3 separate regions of the Homo sapiens genome follow, and regions 2 and 3 are each linked to region 1. The links are contacts of gene promoters, found by promoter capture Hi-C in blood cells and fetal thymus (Javierre and others, 2016). All regions are on one chromosome and are shown on one strand. The core of a region is centred on a gene start or on the middle of the fragment in contact, and the rest is flanking DNA. Distances in the headings are between cores, read along the strand shown.

Evidence for each region. Contacts are between HindIII fragments. The CHiCAGO score rates a contact against its expected background, and 5 or more counts as called.
Region 2: a contact is called between the fragment with the promoter of RGL3 here and the fragment with the promoter of TSPAN16 in region 1, in 10 of 17 cell types (neutrophils, erythroblasts, monocytes and 7 more). The highest score is 11.8, in neutrophils.
Region 3: a contact is called between a fragment that was not itself captured here and the fragment with the promoter of TSPAN16 in region 1, in 7 of 17 cell types (M0 macrophages, megakaryocytes, monocytes and 4 more). The highest score is 11.6, in M0 macrophages.

What each region holds. Positions count from the first base shown.
Region 1 is chr19:11,294,050-11,297,740 of GRCh38, reverse strand. It overlaps TSPAN16 (tetraspanin 16), which reads right to left and starts at 1,581. Exons shown (of 7, transcript NM_001282509.2): 1 at 1,375-1,581. The coding sequence starts at 1,443. The HindIII fragment of the contact is 19,527 bases long and covers 1-3,691 here.
Region 2 is chr19:11,417,157-11,420,847 of GRCh38, reverse strand. It overlaps RGL3 (ral guanine nucleotide dissociation stimulator like 3), which reads left to right and starts at 1,534. Exons shown (of 19, transcript NM_001035223.4): 1 at 1,534-1,602; 2 at 2,064-2,177. The coding sequence starts at 1,570. It overlaps ODAD3 (outer dynein arm docking complex subunit 3), which reads left to right. Exons shown (of 13, transcript NM_145045.5): 13 at 1-243. The coding sequence ends at 13. The HindIII fragment of the contact is 8,157 bases long and covers 1-3,691 here.
Region 3 is chr19:11,376,091-11,379,781 of GRCh38, reverse strand. EPOR (erythropoietin receptor) reads left to right here. Exons shown (of 8, transcript NM_000121.4): 7 at 1,004-1,091; 8 at 1,187-2,575. The coding sequence ends at 1,798. SWSAP1 (SWIM-type zinc finger 7 associated protein 1) reads right to left here. Exons shown (of 2, transcript NM_175871.4): 2 at 3,613-3,691. Among named protein-coding and RNA genes, the nearest start is that of SWSAP1, 3.3 kb to the right of the region's middle. The HindIII fragment of the contact is 5,258 bases long and covers 1-3,691 here.

The DNA of each region.
Region 1 (3,691 bases), core at 332-2,831:
TGGATCACCTGAGGTCAGGAGTTCGAGACCAGCCTGGCCAACATGGCGAAACCCTGTCTCTACTAAAAATACAAAAATTGGCCGGGCGTGGTGGTGGGCACCTGTAATCCCAGCTACTCAGGAGGCTGAGGCAGAAGAATCGCTTAAACCTGGGAGGTGGAGGTTGCAGTGAGCTGAGATCATGCCACTGCACTCCAGCCTGGGTGACAGAGCAAGACTCCGTCTCAAAATAAAATAAAATAAAATAAAATAAAATAATGTCATAGGACAGGGATTAGCAATTTTTTTTTTCTGAAAAACCCAGATGTTGTGGCCTCTGCAGGACTTAAGGTGTCTGTTGAAACTACGCAGTTCTATTGGTGTAGCCCAAAAGCAGCTGTTCACAATCTCCAAATAAGTGAGCACGGCCATGTTCCAATAACACTTTATTTTGTATTATTATTTTTTAAATAGAGATGGGGATCTCACTATAGCTGGTCTCGAGCTCCTGGCTCAATGGATCTGCCCACCTCGGCCTCCCAAAGTGCTGGGATTACAGGCATGAGTCACCACAGCCGGCCTTAATTCTCTTTAAAATGTTACAAGTGAAGAGGAGGAGTGATATTTCATTTCCTTCTCTTTCCTGGCAGCTTTTCCTTAGACTATGCTACAATGAAGACAATTACTTCTTTTTATGTTTTTATTCTTTTATTTTTTTATTGAGACAGAGTCTCGCTATGTTGCCCAGGCTGGAGTGCAGTGACACAATCTCGGCTCACTGCCAACCTCTGCCGCCCAGGTTCAAGCAATTCACATGCCTCAGCCTCCTGAGTAGCTGGGATTATAGGCACGTGCCACCACGCCCATCTAATTTTTTTGTATTTTTAGTAGAGATGGGGTTTCCCCATATTGACCAAGGCTGGTCTTGAACTCCTGACCTCGTGATCCACCCGCCTTGGCCTCCCAAAGCGTTGGGATTACAGGCATGAGCCAGCGCCCCCGGCCTGACAATTCCTTAGCAATGTACATTTCGGGTTACTTTTACGGTAAGGAAAAAAATGTGACAAATTTAAAAGATCAAGAAAATAACCCTTTCTCCTGGCCTTCCCAAACAACTTGGTCGGCTACAGGATTTGACTTAGAGCCAAGCTCTTCCATCACCCACCTGGGCTCCCCCAGATCACACTCATCTGTGCTGGATTTCACCAGCTCTCGGTTGATGGAGGTCCCCACGCTCCCTGCTCCTCCTCCTCCGTCTGCCCTACATCCCTCCTGCTTCTCCAGGGAACCACAGATCTCGATGCCAATTTGGATCAACTTATTTCTGTCTTTCAGGGAGCTGACTGTGGAGGAAGGGCTGCAACAAACCAGGGGCCTGGATTGTGACATACTTACAGCCACGAAGCCATTGAGTAAAGATAACAGTTTCTTCAAGGAAGAATACGGAGTGTGGATTTCAGCCATGCTGAACAGACTGGGGCACCCTGAACATTTAAGTTAACATCTTCCTGAACCTCTGGGCTACTGTTTCCCAAGATGATAGGGATCTGAGGAAGGGGCGCCAATGCTGACTTGCTCTGCCCCTCTGTGTCCTGGCTGCCTGATGGTTGTCCAAGGCGGCCCAGCAGCTGCCCCCTGCCCTGGTCATAAGCCTTTTATCACATCACAATTGGGTTCTGGAGCAAGGCTCATGGTCCAGGGAAATCAGGTGCCCCAAACTGCCCCCTGTTGGCTCCTCATCCTTCAAACAGGTCACAGCAGGGAAAGAGAACAGGCATGGTATGCTACCCTGGTACCCTCCAGATGCCACCAGGACCCTGTGGGCATAGTGCCCAGAGCTAACCACTTGCACAGTTGACATCTCCTAGTAGACTGGGGGATCCAAGCGGGGGAGGGGGGAACTTGGGCTGTCCTATTAACAGCTGTGACCCCTGCCAGGCGCAGTGGCTCACACCTGTAGTCAAAGCATGTTGGGAGGCGGAGACGGGCGAATCACCTGAGGTCAGGAGTTTGAGACCTACTAACAATACAAACAATACAAAAATTACCTGGGTGTGGTGGCACACGCCTATAATCCCAGCTACTTGGGAGGCTGGGGCAGGAGAATCACTTGAACCCAGGAGGTGGAGGTTGCAGTGATCTGAGGTCGTGCCATTCCACTCCAGCCTGGTTGACGGAGTGAGACTCTGTCTCAAACAAAACAAAACAAAAACAAAAACAGCTGTGTCCCCAAAGCCTGGCACTGCAGTACTTAAGAAACCCGCGGAGAATGAATGAATGGATCCAGAGGCTCTGTGATGCAGAAATCTAGCTACAAGCCACCGGGCCTCCCAAGCCCAAGCCCATACTTGGCCCATCCTTCATACAGGGCTCAGAGAGGCCAAGGGAACTGCCTGAGGCCACACAGGAAGCAAGACCAGGCTTTGAAGCCCCAAGAGTAACATGAGGGCAGGAACCTGTAAGGCAGAGAGTCCTGGAACTGTGAGCCATTGGTCACTGGGTTTTTTTCTTTTGAGACAGGATCTTGCTCCATTGCCCAGGCTGGAGTGCAGTGGTGTGATCATGGCTTACTGCAGCCACGACCTCCCTGGCTCAAGTGATCCTCCCACCTTAGCCTCCCAAGTAGCAGGTCATTGGGCTTTTCTCCATGGTGATAGATGTAGTTAGCATTTCAGGACCAAAAACCTTCTGTATGTCAGCACTGAAGACCTCCAGGCCTAGATCCTGCAGTCTGTAGCCCACTTTGCCCCCATACCTCCCCACCCTAACCATAGCAGCTTCACATTGCCCCACCCCGATCCCCTCTCTGTCCAGCCCTGGGCTGGGGTGTGTCTGGGTCCAGGTCCTGCATGGATTGGGGGAAGGCGGATGGTTCAAATGGGAGAAAATACCTTACACTTTAATTAATTTAATGAATGTCTGTCAAATCGCCTGCTTCTTGGAACATGTAGAACTAAGCAAGATGTTCACAGAGGAGTGCTGTCTCCTCCTGGACCACGGGTGCTGTTCACAGCCAGGAGTGTGTCCTTCCACACCTTTATTTAAGAGGTCATTTGAAGCCAGGCGCGGTGGCTCACGCCAGTAATCCCAGCACTTTGGGAGGCCGAGGTGGGTAGATCACGAGGTCAGGAGATCGAGACCATCCTGGCTAATGCAGTGAAACCCTGTCTCTACTAAAAATACAAAAAATTAGCCGGTTGTGGTGGCGGGTGCCTGCAGTCCCAGCTACTCGGGAGGCTGAGGCAGGAGAATCTCTTGAACCCGGGAGGCGGAGGTTGCAGTGAGCCGAGACCACATCACTGCACTCCAGCCCGGGAGACAGAGGGAGACTCCTCCGTTTCAGGAAAAAAAAAAAAAAAAAAAAAAGGTCATTTGAAGTAAGGAACCTCAGAACCAGGGGCTGAGGGCCTGGAAATGGGGGCACAAAAGAGGGTGATAAATGGGCATGCAAGAGAGCATTGGAAAATGTAGGGGGCAAAGGAGGTCTGGGAAATGTGGACTCAAGGGAAAGCAGGAAAATGGGGGTGCAAAGGAGGGTGCAGAGAAGGGGGACGCAAAGATGCGAGATGGAAACTTGGCTGCAAATGAGCAGTGGGAAAACGGGCTTAAAGGACGGTGGGAAAATGAGGCTCAGATACAAGAGAGCTGGGTGAGTAGCAGACGGCGCTGTAGACGTGGGAGCAGCTCCTGGAAGGAACTGGCCGGAAAGGAA
Region 2 (3,691 bases), core at 285-2,784, 120 kb before region 1:
TCGGAGGTCCTAGACTCGTCCTGACACCCACCAGGCGGCCCCCTTCGGAGCCCCCGATCCCTCCGGGTCTAGCGCAGGCCCCACGGGGCCCCTTCAGGGGCTGAACGCGGCCCGGACCGGGAACGGAGGCGGCCAGCGGCGCCCGGAGGGGAGGAAGGGGCCGGGCCAGACGTTCCCACAGTAAATCTCCCCAGCTGGGTCCGCCCCGGCCTCAGAGTTGCGCAATAAATGTTACCGACCATGCCCCTGGGTATTCATCTGTTTTTGACCCTGCACCACCCAAGAGACGGCTGTCCCTGAAAACCCAGGGCCACAGACTGCCTCCTCCAACCTGGGTCATGATGACTCCCATCAGCTAGTGACGCAGATGGAGCTTAAAAATGGGAGATGGCCCGATGTAGTGGTTTTATGCCTGTAATCCCAGTATTTTGGGAGGCTGAGTTGGGAGGATCACTTGAGTCCAGGAGCTCCAGGCTGCAGTGAGCTATGATCGTGCTACTGCACTCCAGCCTGGGCCACAGAGCCAGACCCTGTCTCAATAAATAAAATAAGGGCGGGGTGCAGTGGCTCATTCATACCTATATTCCCAGCACTTTGGGAGGCTGAGCTGGGTGTGTCGCTTGAGCCCAGGGGTTCCAGACTAGCCTGGGCAACATGGTGAAAACCAGTTTTTACCAAAAAAAAAAAAAAAAAAAAAAAAAAAAAAAAAAAAGCTGAGCATGGTGGCATATGCCTGTAGTCCCAGCTACTTGGGAGACTGAGGCAGGAGAATGGATTGAACCCAGGAGGCGGAGATTGCAGTGAGCCAAGATCAAGCCACTGCACTGCAGCCTTGGCAACAGGAGTGAGACCCTGTCTCTAAAAAATAATAAGGCTGGGCGCCGTGGTTCATGCCTGTAATCCCAGCATTTTGGGAGGCTGAGGTGGGCGAATCTCTTGAGGCCAGGAGTTTGAGACCAGCCTGGCAAGTATGGCAAAACCCCGCCTCTACAAAAAATACAAAAATTAGCTGAGCATGGTGGCGGCACCTGTAATCCTAGCTACTTGGGAGGCTGAGGCACAAGAATCCTTTGAATCTGGGAGGCGGAGGTTGCAGTGAGTTAAGATCAAGCCACTGTACTCCAGCATGGGTGACAGAACGAGACTCCATCTCAAAATAATAGCAATAATAATAAAAAGTGGAAGATGCCCCCACACTTGATCAAGCTAGCCCCTTCCACTGGAGGACAGAGGACTCTGGTCTGGGGACACACACATGCCCCCACACAGGAGCTCCCCCACATCTGGGGATACAAAAAAGACCCCTTGGGGACAGATATGTCCTTTCTTCTGGGGACAGATTGATAGGCACCCAGCGGAAGAGCCAGGACCTCTCCTGGGCTGGCGCTGGGTCCGGCTGGAGGCACCCAGAGGCTGGGTCCGGCCTGCCCTGCCCCGCCCCGCCCCAGCAGCTCGGCCGCTCCGCCCCTCTGGCCTCAGCGCCCGGCCACTGCCCGCCGCCCGCCACCCGCCACCCGCCGGCCCTTCCGCCTCACTCAGCGGCGCCACTGAGAGGGACGGGCGCCGGCCATGGAGCGCACAGCAGGCAAAGAGCTGGCCCTGGTAAGGGGACAAGGGATCCCCGGACCCCGCATCCCTGGTGACCCGCAGGTCCAGAAACTCCAAGCGCCCGCCCGTCGGACGGTATCTGCTCCCAATCTGAACTTGCCCTGGAGTCCCCTCCTGGGGACTCGCGGCCCTTGACCCAGTGAAGCGACTGGTTCCTCTTAGGGATGGGGGCGCGAGTCTCTGAGCGCAGTCGGCAGAAAGAGCTAGAGACAGGTTCTATTAGACTGGGCCCTGGGACATCCCCAAATGCCACCCCATGTCCTCAGGACCTGGGAGGAGGGGACCCGCAGCGAGGAGGGGACTAGCCTGGGACCCCAGCCCTAGTCTCGCAGCTTCTGGCCGGGAAGGGGCGTGGGGATGCAGCAGGAGGACTCGGCCCGAGTCCGAGCGGCCAAGGAGGCTGAGGCCCCAGGACCTGTGCCCCTTTGGTGCCCTGAGTCCGCCTGTGCGTCCAGGCACCGCTGCAGGACTGGGGTGAAGAGACCGAGGACGGCGCGGTGTACAGTGTCTCCCTGCGGCGGCAGCGCAGTCAGCGCAGGAGCCCGGCGGAGGGCCCCGGGGGCAGCCAGGTGAGGAGGGGGTTTGGTGGGTGGCGCGGGGCCGGAAGCGACCAGTTGAGGGCGGAGCTGGAGAGCCGAGCACAGGCCGCCAGGTGCAGTGGGCGGAAGGAAGGGAGGGGCTCGGAGGCGACCAGATGAGGCGACCAGGTAGAAAGGGGACTGGGGGCGGCCAGGTAAGTGGGGGGAGATCCAGGGAATGGGGTGGGGCCAGGCGATGGCCGCGCAGTTCCCGAGAGGAGCCTAGGGACAACTTGGTAAGGACAGAACTGGACGGCAGAGTTGGGAAAGGCAGGTTTAGAGGGCCGGGGCTGGAAGGTGGAATGGGGTTGGTTTAGAAGTGGCTAGGTGAGGGCGGATGGGGCAGCCAGTGAAGCGCGACAGGAGGGCTGAGGGAAGCCCTGGGTGGAAAAGAGTGTGTGGGGCGGGGGCGGGGGGGTGGGGGGAGGGGACGGGAGGGGGAGGGGACGGGAGAGGGAGTAGGGGACAGGGCATGGGAGAGGGAGGGTTTCCAGGGCAAGTTGCAGGAGCTATTTGTGGATGGGGAGGAACAATAACTTCAAGCGGGCAGGGAGTGGGGCACACACCTATAATCCCTGCGCTTCGAGAGACCAAGGCAGAAGGCCAGGAATTGGAGACCAGCCTGGACAACACAGCAAGATTCTCTCTAATAAAAATAAAAATTAAAAAACTAGCTGTGCGTGATGATGCCCAGCAGTGGTCCCAGCTACTCAGGAGGCTGGGGCAGAGGGACCGCTTGAGTCTAGGACTTGGAGGCTGCAGTGAGCTATGATTGTGCCACTGCACCCCAGCCTGGGCAACAAAACAAGACCTGTTTCTAAAAAAAACAAACCAAAACAATAACTCCAAGAAGCCGGGAGACAGAGGAATCACATGAAAGAATGGTGCTACAGGCGGGGCGAGGTGGCTCACGCCTGTAATCCCAGCACTTTGGGAGGCCGAGGCAAGTGGATCATCAGGTCAGGAGTTCAAGACCAACCTGGCCAAGACGGTGAAACACCGTCTCTACTAAAAATACGAAAAAACTAGCTGGGCTTGGTGGCGGGTGCCTGTAATCCCAGATACTTGGGAGGCTGAGGCAGAGAATTGCTTGAACCCAGGAGGCGGAGGTTGCAGTGAGCCAAGATCACGCCACTGAACTCCAGCCTAGGTGACAGAGTGAGATTCTGTCTCAAAAAAAAAAAAAAAAAAGTGGTGCTAGGGGCTGGGCACGGTGGTTCACGCCTGTAATCCTAGCCCTTTGGGAGACTTTGGGAGGCCAAGGGGGGCAGATTACTTGAGGTCAGGAGTTCGAGACCAGTCTGACCAACATGGTGAAACCCTATCTCTACAAAAATACAAAAATTAGCTGGGCTTGGTGGTGTGCGCCTGTAGTTTCAGCTACTTGGAGGCTGAGGAAGGAGGATTGCTTGAACCCAGGAGGCAGAAGTTGAAGTGACCCAAGATCGTGCCACTGCACTCCAGCCTGGGCAACAGAGTGAGACTCTGTCTCAAAAAAAAAAACA
Region 3 (3,691 bases), core at 708-3,207, 82 kb before region 1:
TGCGGGTGAGCCGAGATCGTGCCATCGCATTCCAGCCTGGGCAATAAGAGTGAAACTCCGTCTCAAAAAAAAAAAAAAAATTGCCACATGGCTAGAGTGGTATGTAAGGGGGTGTGGCAGATATTGAGATGAGGGAGGTGACAGGGGTCATATAACGCAGGGCCTTCTGCAGGGTGGTGGGGAGGAGTTTGGAATTTTTTTTTTTTTTGAGACAGAGTCACTCTTGTCGCCCAAGCTGTAGTGCAGTGCAGCAGTCTTGGCTCACTGCAATCTCTGCCTCCCAGGTTCAAGTGATTCTCCTGCCTCAACCGCCTGAGTAGCTGAGATTACAGGCGTGCATGCCCGGCTAATTTTGTAGTTTTAGTAGAGACGGGGTTCCACCATGTTGGCCAGGCTGGTCTCAAACTCCTGACCTCAGGTGATCTGCTCACATCAGCCTCTCAAAGTGCTGGGATTATAGGCATGAGCCACCGTGCCTGGCTTGGATTTTATCCTAAATGCCTTCTCTCATTACCCCAGAAGGTAACATAATATTTATCTATGAAGTGACATCATGGACCTCCTGGAAAAATCTGGGCCAGGGTTTTGGGTTTTTTAATTTATTTTATTTTATTTTTTTTAGAGATGGGGGTCTCACTATGTTTCCTAGGCTGGTCTTGAACTCCTGGGTTCAAATGATCCTCCCACCTCAGCCTCCCAAAGTACTGGGATTATAGTGCTGGTGTAAACCACTGCACCTGGCCATGGCCAGGATTAAAGGGAGAATGACCAAGGTATATTGAACTCCTATGCACCCTTCAATACCCTGTTCCATTTACCCTTTTGTAGGGCCTTGCTGATGCTTCAGCCAAAACCCCTGTCCCCTGGCCCTGATGTACTCCTCTGCCTCCATTGTGATCACAGGGACCAAGTGTATCTGTGCCTCTATGACTGGGAGTGGAGGGGGAATTGGTGAGTATTCAATGAGTCATATCTATGTAACTATTTATATTGGCTTCAACAGGGCTCTGAAGCAGAAGATCTGGCCTGGCATCCCGAGCCCAGAGAGCGAGTTTGAAGGCCTCTTCACCACCCACAAGGGTAACTTCCAGGTAGGTGGCCTGGTTGTCCCCTCAGTGCCTGGGCTTCCCTGCTTCTTGCAGCCAAACTGCAGGCCTCTCTGAGCAGGTTGGTGCTATTTCTTCAGCTGTGGCTGTACCAGAATGATGGCTGCCTGTGGTGGAGCCCCTGCACCCCCTTCACGGAGGACCCACCTGCTTCCCTGGAAGTCCTCTCAGAGCGCTGCTGGGGGACGATGCAGGCAGTGGAGCCGGGGACAGATGATGAGGGCCCCCTGCTGGAGCCAGTGGGCAGTGAGCATGCCCAGGATACCTATCTGGTGCTGGACAAATGGTTGCTGCCCCGGAACCCGCCCAGTGAGGACCTCCCAGGGCCTGGTGGCAGTGTGGACATAGTGGCCATGGATGAAGGCTCAGAAGCATCCTCCTGCTCATCTGCTTTGGCCTCGAAGCCCAGCCCAGAGGGAGCCTCTGCTGCCAGCTTTGAGTACACTATCCTGGACCCCAGCTCCCAGCTCTTGCGTCCATGGACACTGTGCCCTGAGCTGCCCCCTACCCCACCCCACCTAAAGTACCTGTACCTTGTGGTATCTGACTCTGGCATCTCAACTGACTACAGCTCAGGGGACTCCCAGGGAGCCCAAGGGGGCTTATCCGATGGCCCCTACTCCAACCCTTATGAGAACAGCCTTATCCCAGCCGCTGAGCCTCTGCCCCCCAGCTATGTGGCTTGCTCTTAGGACACCAGGCTGCAGATGATCAGGGATCCAATATGACTCAGAGAACCAGTGCAGACTCAAGACTTATGGAACAGGGATGGCGAGGCCTCTCTCAGGAGCAGGGGCATTGCTGATTTTGTCTGCCCAATCCATCCTGCTCAGGAAACCACAACCTTGCAGTATTTTTAAATATGTATAGTTTTTTTTTGTATCTATATATATATATACACATATGTATGTAAGTTTTTCTACCATGATTTCTACAAACACCCTTTAAGTCCCATCTTCCCCTGGGCATAGGCCATAGGGATAGAAGTTAAAGTTCTTGAGCTTATTCAGAAGCTGGATCTGCAATCTGAATGCTACTCATAACATAACAAAATAGTATGTTAAACAGCTCTTAAATCTTACTGGCTTACCACATTAAATGATTTCTCTCTCCTAACTCAGCTCAAATGGGCAGCCATCCATGGGATGAGTCAGAGGTTCAGACTCTTCCAGTCTGTAGCTCTACCTTCTCTTAGGGTACTTAGATGGATCCCCTGTTCTACAAACTGCCAGTCAGCAAGGGAAGAAAAAGGGCAGCAATGACCCTCAATGGGCCATTTGAGGGATCTGGCCTGGAAATGGGCTTCCTCTCTTCTTCTCACACCTCACTGGCTGGAAACAGTCACATGACCCCAGTCACATGAAAGGCCAGGAAACTTAGTTTAGCTGTACACCCAGGAAGGGCAAAGCTGTTTAAGGGCCACTAGCTAGTCTCTGCCACTAATAATAATAAAAGTAATTCTGAATCAGGCCATGTTCTAAGAAAGTACTCTGATGACACTTGGTGTCAACAAGTAACTCAGTGGGAGTTTTGCTTTAACTACTTCTTTTTTTTTCTGAGACAGGGTCTCACTTTTGCACAGGCTGGAGCCCAGTAGCTCAAACATGGTTCGCTGCAGCCTCGACCTCCTGGGCTCAGGCGATCCTCCTGCCTCAGCTTTTCGAGTAGCTGGGACTACTGGCGTGCACCACCAAGCCTGACTGATTTTTTTTTTTTTTTTTTTTGAGACAGAGTCTCGTCTTCATCACCCAGGCTGGAGTGCAGTGGCTCGATCTCAGCTCACTGCAACCTCTGCCTCCCGGGTTCAAGCAATTCTCCTGTCTCAGCCTCCCAAGTAGCTGGGAGTACAAGTGCATGCCACCATGCCTGGCTAAATTTTGTATTTTTAGTAGAGACGGGGTTTCACCATGTAGGCCGGGCTGACCTCGAACTCCTGACCTCAGGTGATCCACCTGTCTCGGCCCCTAAAAACACACACACGTACCAGGGCATGTGTGCAAGAATGTTCGCAGCAGTAAATAAGGCAATCTGATGAAGAAATCAGGGTATAGTCACCCATGGAATTATATGCAATATGGAAAAAGGAATGAACTAAAAAAATGTAGATGAATCTTAGTAACAACGTTGAGTGCAAAAAGAAGGAAGTCTCAAACTTTTTTTTTTTTTTTTTTTTGAGATGGAGTCTCGCTTTGTCACCCAGGCTGGAGTGTAGTGGCACAATCTCGGCTCACTGCAACCTCCGCTTCCTGGGTTCAAGCAATTCTCCTGCCTAAGCCTCCTGAGTAGCTGAGACTACAGGCACCTGCCACCACACCCAGCTAATTTTTTTTGTACTTTTAGTTGATACAGGGTTTCATCATGTTGGGCAGGCTGGTCTCCAACTCCTGACCTCTGGTGATCTGACCGCCTCAGCCTCCCAAAGTGCTGGGATTACAGGCGTGAGCCACCACGCCTGGCCTGAAGCTCTTTTTATAAAGTTTAAAGCAATGAAACTATAAACAACATATTGATTGGGTAAAATATATACAAGATAATGCTATACTTTTAAAAGAGAAAAAGCACTTTACATTGTTTAGGTCTTTGGA